Linked DNA regions of Homo sapiens: region 2 is linked to region 1. The links are contacts of gene promoters, found by promoter capture Hi-C in human tissues and cell types (Jung and others, 2019). All regions are on one chromosome and are shown on one strand. Each heading gives the region's core, a stretch centred on a gene start or on the middle of the fragment in contact. The rest is flanking DNA. Distances are from core to core; before and after follow the strand shown.

Region 1 (2,655 bases), core at 156-2,655:
TTAAAACTAAGTTAGAGAATTTACCTTTTGCATGAGACTAAATAGCCCTGTTAGGTGAATCCAGAATTAGGCTGTCTCACGGGCTACGCGAGGACCACACAGGTAGGCAGGCTTCCCTACAAAGGGTAGAAGAGTCTGTCCTTGGTGAAGTGGCTCAGTAAACTTGCTCCCTAGAAAGCAGCTGTCTTCCAGGAGAAAGAAGGGCAGGCTTGGTTCTACAGGCCAGTGTTTTCCTTCTCACATTCACCGGTCAGGGGCTCATAGGGAAAAATCTGCCTTCATCCAGCCGTGGAGTGAGGCAGGGGTGTTTTACCTGCTAGGATTGAACCCTCAGATTGCACAGATTATACAGTTTCAGAAAACCAGAGGGACAGGACCTCAGACATTAGCTATCTTGACCAGTGCTCTCATTTTACATATGAGGAGACTGAGGCCCAAAGAGAAGGGGCTTGCCCAAGGTCACTTCATTCTCACCTGAGTCGTCTGTAACTTTAATCTGTAATTTTCGAGGCCGATAGGTACTATTGACTAATATTGATTAATACTGCCTGCCACCCCTTGGCAATGCTGTCAAGATTCCCAGCCCCATTCTGGAATGATTACTCAGCTAGAACCCTGGGATCCAGGTGCTGTAAGGTTGGCCCCTGGGATATCTCGGCATGGGGCTGTAATTGTGGATTAAGGAAACCCAGTCCTTGGCTAACTCAAGTCTCTCCACATAATAAAAAGACGGAGAAGTGAAATGTCAGGAGGAAATACACATTTAATGCATTTTAAAGAGCCCTGTTTATTTTTGAATCCTGGCCTTTTTTTCTGACTTAATTCTTGGCCACTGTAAATTACTTCAAAAAATGATTTTAGAATAGAGAAGGGGCAGGGAGGCTGAGAAGCTGTCTTTAACATTTTATCTTCCTTTGGCATCATTTAGAATTTTAATTCCGAAGCGCGACAAGGAGGCAGAAACGGCTCTTGGGCGCAGACAAGCAGAATCACTTTAAATGAAGACAGTGTTGTGCTTCAGAATTTCCTCTAAAACTACCGAAAAAATAACGCCTCTCCCAGCACTGCTTAGAATAGAGGCCATTTCTAATTCCTCATTAACGGGAATAGGAACAAAAGTATTCCAAAGCAAAGACTTATTTGAGTTCACTGCTAAAGCCGCTACATCAAGCTGGAGGTGTGGGGGGAGAGAAAAGCCTGAAAATTAACATCATTTTTGGGAAATAATCAGTTTAAATGCTTTTGTAACTTCATCACTATCTACCCGGGGAAGAACATTATTATTCAAGCCTCCTATGTGTCTCGGAGTCAAGAGCTTCTAAACCAAGAAAGGAAGAAACGGGCGGGTTATTGACGAGTTCCCTCCCTCTCGCAGTTTTAAACCACTGCAAAATAAACCCATTTGTTAAGGCTCTGGGACCAACGCTGGGCGAACCAGCTCCGCTCCGGAGGGGTCTGCGCGGCTGGCCTCGCCCGCCCCCTAGCGGACCCGTGCGATAGTGCAGCCTCAGCCCCAGCGCACAGCGCCGCATCCAGACGCTGTCCGCGCGCGCAGCCTGGGAGGCGCTCCTCGCTCGCCTCCTGTACCCATCCAGCGACCAGCCAGGCTGCGGCGAGGGGATTCCAACCGAGGCTCCAGTGAGAGACCTCAGCTTAGCATCACATTAGGTGCAGCCGGCAGGCCATCCCAACTCGGGCCGGGAGCGCACGCGTCACTGGGGCCGTCAGTCGCCGTGCAACTTCCCCGGGGGGAGTCAACTTTAGGTTCGCCTGCGGACTCGGTGCAGGTAGCTGGGTGCTAAGCAGGGGTGGACGGGATGGCTAGGGCCGGTGGAGCCATCGGGACCCGAGTGGAGGTGGTGGGGTGCCTCGCACTCCTTGTTCCTGGAGGAGCTCGGGGTGTTCCGAGAGATTGTAAAGTGACTTCTCGGGATTGAGACTCAGAGTCCTTGATTATCTGGGTCCAAAGCGCAAGTCAGGGGTTCCAGAACTTTCGAGGCTGCCGGGCTGGGGAGGAGCCCCGCGGGAGGTGTCTATGCCAGGGTCTGGGAACAGCGCTTGGGCATCTTGGGCTTTGAGGCAGGGGTTCCCCCAGCAGGGACTGCAGAACCGGGTTTCCACCGAAGCAGGTGCTGTGGAAGTTCAGGGAGTGACGGCCGACCGTCTTAGAAAAGGGGGTTAGACGGGGAAGGACCAGAGCTGGGGTTTCCCAGGCAAGTGGCTATTTGGGGATTTCCGGAGGAAGTACTTGAATTAATGTTTACTAGGAGAGGGGCTGGTTTGGGGGTCCCGCGGCAGGTGGATATGCTGAGGGTCGGAGCCTGGGGCGAGTAGGTAGTTTGGAGATTCCCTCGGGGAGGTGATTTGGTTTTAGATTCCCACTCCCGGAGGAACGTTGCTGATTTTGACCCTCCCTTCTCCCCCAGTGGAAGCCGCTGAACATCCCGAGGAACTGGCACGCTGGGGGCTCTGGGCTTGTGGCCGGTAGAGGATTCCCGCTCATTTGCAGTGGCTCAGAGGAGGTACCTCCAACGGGGATTTCTGGGGTGGCGGCTGAGCAACCCGAGGCCGGCGGTTGTGCCCTGTTGTTTCAGATGAGTTGGGTTCCTGGGAATGGGACAAGCACGCCCTACCCGCGTCGGAAGAGAAACGCGG
Region 2 (2,655 bases), core at 96-2,595, 120 kb before region 1:
GTCATTGTCATAATTGAATGAGTTTTTTGGAACCTGGAACTTTACTATTCTAATACGTTAGCCAACTGCTAAAATATTTGGCATATAAGCTATTGTTTGTCTTACAGATTACTAAAAATAGGGGTTTGAGGGAAGATTCATGGTAGCTGACAGAATTTATTTAAGTACCATTGTCTGGTAGGCATGTTGTCCTGCATTGATCCTCCAGTGATCTACCCTTGAAGAGTTATTGTTTTAAATTGGATATACTCAACCACGTTCAAATTAGTGCCACAATTAAGGGAAGAAATATGGGCAGGTAACTACTAGATGCTAGAAAAATTCCACTTGTAGGTAATCCTTAATCCTCAGGATTTTTATAGCAGATGTTTGCGTTTTTTCCTACCCCGCAGTACCCTGTGTACCTGCCATGCTGGTTCTGATGAATTTACACCCTGGTGTCATAGAAACAGTGGAAATCAAAGATTAAAATAGAGCACATAGTAATCAGGTTTTCTCGGGCAAATTGGAGCATGGTGCTGAGGCAATTATTCAGATAATTCAGACCCAAATCTGTTTTATGAAAATGGAACTGACATTTGTTGAACATTTACTGCGTACCAAGCTCTATGCTAAATATTTAATGTGTTATATTGAATAAGCTTTTAAAAAGCCCTAAGGAATACATGTATCATTATCCTGATTTTATATGTGAGGATATTGACACAGAGGAAAGTTAAGTAACTGGCCCAAAATTACACAGTAAGTAACAGAAATGGGACCTCAACTTAACTTTGTCTGACACCGAAATCTGAGGGTTTTTTCTCTAACTAACATTACCAGTCATACATTTGCCGTAGGTATTTGACATCTTACTTTTCAGCTTCAGTAGTAAATTCTTTACTAGTAGAATGAAATAAGATGCTACAAAAGGAATATGCGAAGATAGTGTTTTACTTTGCTGAAGAAGCTGTGCTACTTTCCGTCAGAGAATGACAAGAGTGAGATATTACAGAAAAACCAGCTTGGCCAAGGTGTGCATGTGTGTGTGCATGCACACACACAGAATTAGCTTACATTTCTGCAACTTTGACCTGAAAATAAGGCTAAAAGCTGACTAAAAGGTGTGAAAAATAAATTGCAGGTGTTCTAAATAAGCCTATTAATATCTTCCTGGACCAAGGTTGGGAATTCCATCGAATTCAAGATTCGATTTTGAATCTTTGCCAGTGAGTCTTTCTCACGTGTAATCTATATATTAATATCCACTGTAGCCTGGACCAGTAGGGACATCAGAGAGGGCCATTTGAATGCCCTTCCATAGGGGAGCTGTAACGTTCATGTACCAAACCTTACATTCATCCAGCTTCTTGAAGCGTGGTCTTCCAGAATGTTTCAAGACCAAATAGTAGACAAGCTGAAAAAGTTCCTCGTTCTAGACTTTAAAGCTGCAGTTGTGTAGGCTTGTATATGCTCTGACCCCAGAAATATCAGAATGAGTAATTAATTTTCTCCTTTGGAAGATTTTTTAAATGTCTTGAAAGAATGTTAAAGGAATTTTTGATCCTCAAGGCATATTAAAATGACTAAGACTTCAAAAATATTAATTGCTTTTATCCCCAGGGAAGCGATCTGAGTGATAATTTTAGTAACACTGACTGCTATACCTAAGTGTCTTTTTGTAAAATCCTATTTGTGAAACTATGTTTAATTTTAGGAATGTGGTTTTTGAGCAGATATGGTAATAAGCACATTACTTGAAAAAGGAATGAGCAGTTCTGTCTGGTATTTTAATTGTATTAGCATCAACTGTGTTTTTCAGTGGTGACTAGAATTGGAACAGCAGATATAGCAGATAATCCTGAAACTTCATTTTAGATAAAATTCTGAACCTCCCAAATTTTGTATCAGTCCATTTAGTGATTTGGTTATCATTCAGGTGAGTGCCTGAGGTGGGGCAGAAGGAAAGATAATGGGAATTGAAGACACCAGGGAGCTGTGCAGCCTGGCTGGGCAGTGACATTGAAGTCACAGAGGAAGAGGAGATTGCAGGCAACTTCTGAGATGTGTTTTTTGTTAACCACCTCTAACATCTGTTTTCACTGAGGTAGCATAGCAAAAACCTCTTAGATTTATGTCATTAGTGTACTGCAAATGTTTTCCTTTAACAAATCAGTGATTTGTGCTGGTGATTTGAAAGCCCCTAGGTAAATTGATCACAGACTCTACTAGGTTAGTTGACAGGCTTGGCCATCCTCCTTTCTTAGCTAGAATAGTAGAGATGCTTTGTAACCTTCCTGTTTAAAAAAAAAATTGTGTGTGTTGTGGAGCACAGGGGGGTGTTGGCAAGAAGCTTACTTTACTCTTTCTCCAACTCTGTGACCCCTGCCAGGCCCCAGAACTACGTGATCCTCCGCAGCTCCCATTTCCCTAGCTCGTGGGTTTTCAGTAGGAGCAGTATCACCCCCAAAGGGTGGAATTTTGTTTTTCGTGGGGGTGGGAAGTGGGTAAAAAGGTTACTGTGTGTATGCATAAAACACAGATATATATATATATATATATATTTTATATATATATGCTTTATACATGTGCGTGTATGTGTATCTCAACACATGAACAAACAGACATCATATTTGTGGTATTAAAATTTCATGGGATTGGGGGAAAAGTGTAAAA

The links. Contacts are between HindIII fragments. The study calls those that stand out against the background at their distance.
Region 2: a contact is called between a fragment that was not itself captured here and the fragment with the promoter of OXTR in region 1, in 5 of the 25 tissues and cell types used here (adrenal gland, bladder, heart right ventricle and 2 more).

Annotation. Positions count from the first base shown.
Region 1 is chr3:8,768,363-8,771,017 of GRCh38, reverse strand. OXTR (oxytocin receptor) reads left to right here and starts at 1,405. Exons shown (of 4, transcript NM_000916.4): 1 at 1,405-1,787; 2 at 2,427-2,522. RefSeq lists enhancers at 1,241-1,290, 1,938-2,609. The HindIII fragment of the contact is 11,538 bases long and covers 1-2,655 here.
Region 2 is chr3:8,890,964-8,893,618 of GRCh38, reverse strand. The region is part of intron 11 of RAD18 (RAD18 E3 ubiquitin protein ligase); the gene reads left to right. Among named protein-coding and RNA genes, the nearest start is that of RAD18, 71 kb to the left of the region's middle. The HindIII fragment of the contact is 5,103 bases long and covers 1-2,655 here.